3 separate regions of the Homo sapiens genome follow, and regions 2 and 3 are each linked to region 1. The links are contacts of gene promoters, found by promoter capture Hi-C in human tissues and cell types (Jung and others, 2019). All regions are on one chromosome and are shown on one strand. The core of a region is centred on a gene start or on the middle of the fragment in contact, and the rest is flanking DNA. Distances in the headings are between cores, read along the strand shown.

Region 1 (3,126 bases), core at 161-2,660:
CGCAAGGGAGGGGCAGGGAGCAGCAGTCCGGGTGCGGGGATCGGGGGACCTCGGCGGGGGCATCCACAGGGGCTGCAAGATCTCTGGTCAGCATGGCGTGGGTGGGGAGAGCGTTTCTCCCTGGGGTCCTGAGCCAGTGACTCCTGTTAGGACCTTTGTCCCACCTCCGCCTGGTGGACCGGCAGGGACCTGGTCTAGCCAGTCCTGCAGCCTCCATTCCCCCACCTGCCCCTCCCCGCTCTGTGGTGTGGCTGCCCAGGAGAGAAGGGGCCCAGGGAAGGGAGGTCTCCGGCAGGGGTGGGGAGTGACAGGCCAGGGCAGCAGGGCTGAGCCGGAGCTGCTCACAGCTGCCAGGCACTGGTCATCATGGCCACGAACTCCTCATCCGTGTTCATGGAGGCACTCACGCCGCTGTAGTAGTCCTGGAATTCCGCCAGTGTGACCTGGGAACAGAGGGCCGTGAGGGGGCACGGCCGAGGAACTGCCTGGGGAGGGGGCCCCCCGCGCAGCCACCCACCTGCCCGTCCTTCTCAGAGGAGTCGAAGTTGTCCAGGAAGCGGCGCAGCACCTCGTCCTCGGTCCACTCCCCACTGCGCACCTTGGGGTGGGCACGGCCACTGTACACCCCGCGGAGGTCGTCCACCGTCACGACGCCGTCCCCACTGCGGTCCAGCTTGGCAAATGCAGCTGCGATGACAGCCTCCCGGGCCTGGGACATGGGGGGCTGGGACAGGAGGTGGTGACTGGGGGTGGTGGGTAGCACACCCAAACCCCCAAGACGCTGTGCAGAGCACTGGGGCTGTATGCCCCAGCAGGCGCCTCTTAACAGCAGCTCTTAGGGAGGAGTCCCCGTCTCCGCATCTCAGCATCCTCTGTCGCCCCATGCCCAGGGCACACGCCTTGACTGTGAGGTGGGGGCTCACCCGCAGCGCCCGAAGGAACTCCTCCAGATCCAGCGTCCCGCTGCCATTGCGGTCCCACTTCCTGCACACACCCTCTGCCTCCGCCTGGTCCAGCACCAGCCCGAGTTTGGCCAGACCCTGCCGGAACTCATCAGCGTCCAGGGATCTGCTCCCGTCCCGGTCTAGTTGGCGGAAAAACCTGGAGGCAGGGGACACGGTTGGAACAGTGGTCTCAGGGGCCGGGGTCAGGAAGGTGAGAGGGGACAGCTCACCTGGCCAGGCCCTGGATGCCCGAGGCCCCGCGGGACAGGCACTGTGCCCGGAGTTTCTCCATGGTGGCATCCACGGCGTCCATGCTTGGTCTGGGCTCTGGGCAGCTGGAAGGGAGAGAGGTCAAGGTGGGGACTCCCGCAAGCCCACCCTGGCCGACTGCCCCTTGTTCAGATGCTCACCTGGCCTGCGTCTGTCCCAGAGTCCTGCCTGCGGGGCCTTGTGTTAGCTGTGTTGTGCCTGGGGAGACTGTTGCTAGTGGAAGGTGCCTCTGGAGATGGGGTGGGGCCCAGCTGCATGAATGCACTGTGCTGGGCAGTGGGGAGTGGGGGAGGGATGGGTGCGCCCAGCCTGACTGCTTACTCAACTGCCAGCCCCACAGGGCCTGGGACAGAGCCAGATCCCTGTGGCACTGCATCCCTTCCTGGCTCCAAGGAGGAGGGGCAGGCCACTGCCCTGCAGGGGCTGAAATGCCCTGGATGGAGACAAGTCCGTGGCTGGGGAGGCTTGACGCATGATTCCTGTGTGACCCTGGACAGGTCCCTTTCCCTCTCTGGCTTCACAGGGGCTTCTCAGCCCGAGCCAGGGCTGACAAAATTGCTGAGGAATCAAAGTTCAAAAGGGCCCCAGGTTCTGACCGGCCACTGCGGCTCATGCCTGAAATCCCAGCACTTTGGGAGGTCTAGGTGGGAGGATCACTTGAGCCCAGGAGTTTGGACCAGCCTGGGGAACATATAGAGAACTTGTTTCTATTGTACAGCAACAAAAATGCCCCAGGTGGGCTGGGCGCGGTGGCTCATGCCTGTAATCCCAGCACTTTGGGAGGCCGAGGTGGGCAGATCACAAGGTGAGGAGTTTGAGACCAGCCTGACCAACATGGTGAAACCCCGCCTCTACTAAAAATACAAAAATTAGCCGTGCATGATGGTGGGCGCCTGTAATCCGAGCTACTTAGGAAGCTGAGGCAGGAGAATCGCTTGAACCCAGGAGGTGGAGCTTGCAGTGAGCCAAGATTGCACCACTGCACTCCAGTCTGGGCGACAGAGCAAGACTCCATCTCAAAAAGAAAAAAAAAAAAAAAGCCCCAGGTGGCCCAGGTCCTGGGGCCCTAAGACCTCCCACCCAGGCCCACCTCCAAGGGCAGGTCCTGCAACCCACAGAGACTGAGCTGAGCCTGAGGGACACCTCTGCTCACTGCCACAAAGCTTGTCACTGGCCGTTGTTAGGAGCCAGTCCCAGGATTTCTGTCTTTACGGATCTTTTGTTGTTGGTTTTCAGGCCTGAAACGTGACTTAGTGGGCTGGCTCCTGACAAGGTGGTGAGCCAGAGGTTGTGACCCCGAGTGGAAGAGCAGCCCTGATCCTGGACATAAACCTCAAGAGACGAAGCCACCTCACTGAAGGCCTTCAACGGAGACATCGGATATACCTGCCCGCTAAGATAGGTGGGTTTTCCAGGACTTGAAACGTGGGCCCTGTTTGAGGACCCACTGTTCGCCCCGACCCAAGGATCATCAATCGGAGCCTTCTCCAAGCCTGGCTTTACCTCGCTCACAGCACAATTATATTGTCAGAAGTTGCCTTGCCTGAGCGCGGTGGCTCATGCCTGTAATCCCAACACTTTGGGAAGCCAGGGCAGGAAGATCACTTGAGCCCAGGAGTTTGAGACCCGCCTGTGCAACATAGTGAGACCCCCCCATCTCTACAAAAACTACAAAAAATTAGCCAGGCATGGTGGTGTGTTCCTGTAATCCCACCTACTTGGAAGGCTGAGGCAGGAGGATCACTTGAGCCCGGGAGTTGGAGGCTGCAGTGAGCTATGATCGCACCACTGCACTCCAGCCTGGGTTACAGAGCAAGACGCCCGCCTCTTAAAAATAAGTAAATAAACTGGCCGGGCACGGTGGCTCACGCCTGTAATCCCAGCACTTTGGGAGGCCGAGGCGGGCAGATCA
Region 2 (3,126 bases), core at 344-2,843, 1.2 Mb after region 1:
AATCACGTTGAGGTCAGGAGCTGGAAAGCAGCCTGGGCAACATAGTGCAGGCCCTCTAGTCTCTACAAAAAATACAAAAGTTAGCTGGGAGTGGTTGCACACGCCTGTAGTCCCAGCTATAAGGCACCGTCTCTACAAACGCATTTTTTAAAATTCAGCCAGGCGTGGTGGTCCACACCTGTGGTCCAAGCTACCCAGGAGGCTGAGGTGGGAGGATCGCTTGAGCCCAGGAGGTGGAGGCTGCAGGGAGGGATGATCGTACCACTGCACTCGAGCCTAGGCGACAGAACGAGACTCTCTCTAAAAAATACAAAAAACAAAACACACAAAAAAGTAGTTTGATCTAAAGCAAAATGGTGAATATCTGCAGAAACTAATGTGATATCAAGTATAGATTGATATCTATGAGATGAAAAGCTTCATTTGACCCCGGATGGGTTTGTGGGCCGTTTGACGTGCATTGTTTTAATGGAAGGTGGATTTATGATAAAGTGATAAACATGTGTGTGGGTGGGTGGGTGTGTTGGAAAGGGTGTTTATTGGATTTCTTTTTGTCTTCCTTATTTTCCTTCTTTCGGTCTCTACTGTATCAAATACAATAACAGATATTCAGGAAGAGCGGATATTGCTTTAGCTGACTGTAGCCAGTGTTTCTTTGGTGGGACAACGCAACTATCACTGCAACATTATCTCTATAGGAGAATTTAAAGAACCCTGACGCCTACCGGTTTCCGTAGTGTAGCGGTTATCACATTCGCCTCACACGCGAAAGGTCCCCGGTTCGATCCCGGGCGGAAACAGGTCAGCTGTTTTTCCTAACCGGAGAGTAATACTATTTGAAATTCACCGAAAGAACGATTCTAGTCCCATTCTTTCTCTTCCGCCTTCCTCCTGCCTTTTAGACATTTTTATGGGATTTAAAAAAATTTTCCGTGATTGATGGCTCACGCCTGTAATCCCAGCACTTTGAAAGGCCGAAGAGGGCGGATCACCTGAAGTCAGAGTTCGAGACCAGCCTGGCCAAAATGGTGAACCGCCCCCCCCCCCCCACCCCGCCCCACCCCGCCCCACCCCACCCCATCTCTACTAAAAATACAAAAATTAGATGGGCGTGGTGGCGTGCGCTTGTAATCACAGCTACTTGGGAGGCTGAGGCAGGAGAATCGTTTGAACCTGGGAGGTGGTGGTTGCAGTGAGCGGAGATCACGCCACTGCACTCCAGCCTGGGGGACCGAGCGAGACTCCGTCTCAAAACTAAAATGAAAATTTCAAACTCGCAAAAGTGGTACCGCATGCGTTGGCCGGGAATCGAACCCGGGTCAACTGCTTGGAAGGCAGCTATGCTAACCACTATACCACCAACGCCCTGATAGGTAGCATCCTCTCCGGATATCCTTAATAGTGGGGGATCATGGGTTTGACTGAGTGATACCAAGTCACAGGGGGGTGTCTCTCCCTAACCCACCGGAAGATGTCGTTCATGGGGCGTTACGCACCTTAGGCCGCCGCGCCGCGGGCTCCCCCCCAAGCGCCGCGGACGCCTTGGTACGTGCCTGGTGGTGTCCAATCCCAGGCCGCCGCCTGGGTCGCTCAACTTCCGGGTCAAAGGTGCCTGAGCCGGCGGGTCCCCTGTGTCCGCCGCGGCTGTCGTCCCCCGCTCCCGCCACTTCCGGGGTCGCAGTCCCGGGCATGGAGCCGCGACCGTGAGGCGCCGCTGGACCCGGGACGACCTGCCCAGTCCGGCCGCCGCCCCACGTCCCGGTGAGCAGCGCCCGCGCGCCTCGTCCCGCCCCGGCCGCGACCCTGAACCCGCCATTGACCGGCCCCGCCTCGGCCCTGACCCTGCCCTCGCCATCGCCTGGCCTCCCCGCACCCCGGAGCCTCCATGCACCCGTCTGTGGGTCCCTCCGGCCCCCTGCCTCGTTTCCTCTCCGCCCCAGGCCCTCCTCCACCTTCTTTCCCTCCCCGATTCCTGCGCTGGCCAGGCCACCTCCCAGTTTCTCCCCTTCCCTGATGGGCTTCCCCACCCATCCCGTTGCTGCCCAGGCCACCAGGCTCTGACCCCTTCCGGAGGTGGCCGCACCCAAGAACGTCCTCGTAGCTGCAGACCTTGACACCCTCTCCCCTTTCGTGCAGGCTCTGGAGGTCCCGATCTCCTCCCTCTCCCCATGCAAATGCTGTATATGCACAGAGGCCACCTCCCTCGACCTGCATCCTGTCCTCACTCCTTTACCACTTCCTCCAACCTTCGCCCCGAGGCTTGGTCTCCCCAATCCAGTCCTGATCCTCAACCCTACTTGATCCCTCTATTAAGGGTATCCAGAGACTCTTTTTCCTGCCGAGGCGTTGGTGGTGTAGTGGTTAGCATAGCTGTCTTCCAAGGGTCCAGCCCACAGGGTTCAGCCCCCTTCTCTCAGCCTCCCTTCTCAGGCCTGTCCAACCGCCTACCTTCTTCCCACACAGCCTTAGGCCAGCCCTGACACTTCCCTGTTCACGCTGCCTCTGAGCCATCAAAAGTGGTCTATTCCCTTGGCCCCCACCCCCTGGTCTTCCCCAGGGGCCCCAGGAGGAAGTCACTTGCCTCCCAGGCAAGAACCAACCTGCTTTCGAGGAGCTGGGACTAAAGCCCAGGGGGTGTGGACCGTAGGCACCAATCCCTGCATTCCTCTGCTGGGTCCCAGGGGAATCGGGGCCCGTGGGATGGCTTCTCTCCCAGATTCTGTCCAGGGCATGCAGACAGTGCTGCAGGGCTTCAAGGCAGAGCTAGAATCTAGCCAGGTAGAATCGGGCCTGACAGTCTGCAGCTCCTGAGTGGGGGAGGCTGAACGGCTGGCCGGTGCTTCCATTAACCTGCCACATTCATGACATGTTTATCCTATAAAGGTCTGTGTCCCACGCCTGCAGCTGGAATGGAGGCTCTCTGGACCCTTTAGAAGGTCAGTTGTGCTGGGGTTTGGCAGCCAGGAAGGCTGGGGTGTGGGCTGGTGGGATTCCTTTGCCTGCTCTAGAATATAGACATGGGCAGGAAATGGTTTTCTATGGCCCTGGATGGTTGTCCTCCGCAGGGCAGTGGCTGCAGTTTTTTGTGCGCCTGCTGGAGGCTTTTCTTTCCACCCCTGTCCCCCT
Region 3 (3,126 bases), core at 438-2,937, 1.0 Mb after region 1:
ACAAAAATTAGCTGGGTGTGGTGGCGCGCGCCTGTAATCCCAGCTACTTGGGAGGCTGAGGCAGGAGAACCGCTTGAACCCGGGAGGTGGAGGTTGTAGTGAGTCGAGATCGCGCCATTGCACTCCAGCCTGGGAGACAGAGCGAGACTCTGCCTCAAAAAAAAAAAAAAAATTTAAACATTCAGCTTCTCACTGTGCATTAGCCACGTGGTGCTTTTGGCTACAATGTTGGATGGCACACAATTCTAGAATTGCAGAAAGTTCTATTGGACAGTGCTAGCATAGACCCTGTCCCCACTCACCCCCCCAAAAAAATGCAGTCACAGACACCCAATTTTTCCCATGTTCTTTCTAAAGCTACCAGAAGCTTCATTCTATTCAAATAATTTGGCAGAGGTGGCAAACTGGTGGCCCCTGGGCTGGACAAAGCCCCAGTTGGGTTTCATTTGGTCCAATTGTTCCCTAACAGGCAGGACATGTCTACAGCTTGAACTTCCTGTGGATCTGTGACTCTCCAGGTGGGTCTCCCATAGGGCACTGCTCTCCCCTGCCCCTCTAAGCAGGGCATCACTGCCACCTCCTCAGCAGAAATATTCACCTCCTCCCTGGACCATCTGAGATTGAGACCTTGGTTTATAGACCAAGAGGATAAATAATTTGGGAGGTGGAGAGGGGCGGGGTAAAATCCAAGTGGGGGCAGCTTCAGGAAAAGGTTGATCCAGCAGTCACAGAGCCTGGAGCCTGACCCCTCCATTGCCCCTGGCTGACCCTCTCCAGGCCTCAGTTTCCTTCTCTGCAAAATAGGGATGATTAAAAAGACAATACAGTGCTGGGAGGATGAAGTGGTCTGATGTTGGGCAGATCAGGCCGGAGGCTGGACAAGTTCCCGTGGTGGTTCAAGTCACTCATATAGCTGGGTTGGGCCGGGTGCGGTGGCTCATACCTGTGATCCCAGCAATTTGGGAGGCCCAAGCGGGCAGATCACTTGAGGTCAGGAGTTCAAGACCAACATGGTGAAACCCCGTCTCTGCTAAAAATACAAAAAATTAGCCGGGCGTGGTGGCACGTGTCTGTAATCCCAGCTACTCAGGAGGCTGAGGCAGGAGAATCGCTTGAATCCAGGAGGTGGAGGCTGCAGTGAGCCAAGGTCGCGTCACTGCACTCCAGCCTTAGCGACAGAGCGAGACTGTGTCTCAAAAAAAAAAAAAAAGTGTGTGTGTGTGTGTGTGTGTGTGTGTGTACATATAGCTGAGTCGGAGCCCATGGTGGAGGGCGTGGCCCCTGACGCGCTGGCGAGGGTCACCCTGCAACTCTCCCAGGGTTCTCGCAGCCTCAGTTTGGCCATAGGGGAAATGGGCGACCTGGGGAATCCCAGCACCTGTGCGGCGCCCCCGATCGCACTCACCTCCCAGGGCCAACTTCACAGGGTCCCCAGCTGCGGAGCGGGGGTCCCGTGGCTGGGACAGGCGTGGTCCAAGAGTGCTCCCTCCCCTTCAGGGGCAGGGCGTGGAGTCCTTCCCGGACTTCATGACTTGGCGAGGGGCGGGGCCTAGTGGAGGCGGGGCAGGGAGGAGAGGGGCGGGCCTGGCGCGGGCAATCCCTCAACCTGATTGGTCCCCTCGCCCGTCACTCCAGTGCGCCCCCAACCTACCACGCAGTAAAAGCCACCCCCGCCTCGGCCCGGACGGTTTCCAAGCTGGTTTTGAAGTCGCGGCAGCTGTTCCTGGGACGTCCGGTTGACCGCGGTGAGTGGCGGGGGCGTCTCAGTTGAGCTGGGGGGCGGTGTCCATGGAGTCCTGGGGCACCCCAGGGGCCGGAGGGGTCGGGGAGGGCCTTTCTCGGGGTGGGATTTGCTGGACTCTGCGGCCTGGGGAGGGGTCTTCAGCCCAGGCTGGTCACCCCTCCCCCCAGAAAAATCCAACTTCTGCAACGAAGCTCAGACTTTGAAACCCTCTTCTCACTTCCTGGGACTTTTGAGGGGCGAAAGAGCCCCGTAGAAGGGGTGATATTGAAGGGGGTGGGCTAAATACCGCCCCCCGCCCACCAGGTTTTCTCTAAATTTTGAACAGTTTGCTTTTGGAAACGCCATTTGCAGGCAAGTTTCCTCCTGCGGGCAGAATCTCCGCCCTCCCTTCTGGGGTTTTCAGAGACACCCCCCGCCACCGCAAAGCCCCCTCCCCTACAGATGGTTTTGCCACGGGTGGGGGTGGGGGTTGCCCCAGCTCCTGGCGCCCCCAACTGATTCTGGGGAGGTCTTGGGCAAAGCCTGCCCACTTCCCTCGGGTGGGCGTGGCGACGAGGTGGCTTAAAAGTAGGAAGGCCTATCCGTTAACTGCTTTGGGGTTCTTGTCCCGGCTAGGCCTGGCAGTGGGACCTGGGGCCCTTGGAATTTTGGAAGTCCAGTCTTAGCATGCTCTGAAGTTGCTGGATGGCTGGGTCTGGCCTGGAGCTCCCCTTCTGGAGCCAGCGGCAAGGCAGGTCACTGACCCCCAGGGGTTTCATAGGGTGTTGACATCTGCCATGGCCACCCTTGCTTAAACCAGTTCCAGGAAGTCATGGTGGACAGAGGGGACGGGAGGAAGCTGCCTGAGTCCTAAGTGGGACTTGAGAATCGGTCGAGGCCAGGAGTTTGATGCCTGCCTACCTGGCCCCCTGCCCAGGTGAGCTCAGGCTCCAAAGGAGGTGAGGAGAAGCACAGATTTAGGCAATGATCACTGGGAGGTAGGTATGTCTTCTCACCTGACTTCCCAGTTGGGGGACTTTTGTACCTAGCAGGAAGCTGGTTCCTGGCTGGCTTTACCCCTTTGTCCGTGGAAGCCAGAGTGCGGTGAGATAGTTTATGGAGCACTTACTATGTGCCGGGCACGGATCTGAGCTTCCCCGGAGCAGCGTCTCCTCCAGTCCACAGGGACTCCAGGCTCTTGTGAAACACTTATACACATTTCACAGATGTGGCAAGCAAGACTCCTAGGGGATGCTGCCTTCCCAAACTCCTATTCCTAGTGAGTTGCCAAGCTGGGATTAGAACCCATTCTGGGCTGGGCAGGATGACTCACGCCTATAATCCCAGCACTTTGGGAGGCTGAGGTGGGCGGATCATTTGAGGTCAGGAGTTGGAGAACAGCC

What was found. The method cuts DNA at HindIII sites, captures the fragments that hold promoters and counts their contacts. A contact is called where the count stands out against the background at its distance.
Region 2: a contact is called between the fragment with the promoter of DPP9 here and the fragment with the promoter of CAPS in region 1, in 1 of the 25 tissues and cell types used here (stomach).
Region 3: a contact is called between the fragment with the promoter of PLIN3 here and the fragment with the promoter of CAPS in region 1, in 1 of the 25 tissues and cell types used here (heart right ventricle).

The regions. Positions count from the first base shown.
Region 1 is chr19:5,912,538-5,915,663 of GRCh38, reverse strand. CAPS (calcyphosine) reads right to left here and starts at 1,410. Exons shown (of 5, transcript NM_004058.5): 1 at 1,355-1,410; 2 at 1,175-1,279; 3 at 924-1,101; 4 at 518-724; 5 at 1-443. The coding sequence starts at 1,257. The coding sequence ends at 342. The HindIII fragment of the contact is 10,666 bases long and covers 1-3,126 here.
Region 2 is chr19:4,722,309-4,725,434 of GRCh38, reverse strand. DPP9 (dipeptidyl peptidase 9) reads left to right here and starts at 1,593. Exons shown (of 22, transcript NM_139159.5): 1 at 1,593-1,761; 2 at 2,884-2,936. It overlaps TRG-TCC1-1 (tRNA-Gly (anticodon TCC) 1-1), which reads right to left and starts at 1,365; the gene lies at 1,294-1,365. TRV-CAC3-1 (tRNA-Val (anticodon CAC) 3-1) reads left to right here and starts at 728; the gene lies at 728-800. It overlaps LOC105372250 (a long non-coding RNA gene), which reads right to left and starts at 2,555. Exons shown (of 3, transcript XR_936274.2): 1 at 2,449-2,555; 2 at 726-815; 3 at 1-300. RefSeq lists silencers at 673-872, 1,323-1,412, 1,643-1,792. The HindIII fragment of the contact is 28,361 bases long and covers 1-3,126 here.
Region 3 is chr19:4,866,228-4,869,353 of GRCh38, reverse strand. PLIN3 (perilipin 3) reads left to right here and starts at 1,687. Exons shown (of 8, transcript NM_005817.5): 1 at 1,687-1,745. RefSeq lists a silencer at 1,530-1,709 and enhancers at 1,927-2,427, 2,370-2,719. The HindIII fragment of the contact is 15,856 bases long and covers 1-3,126 here.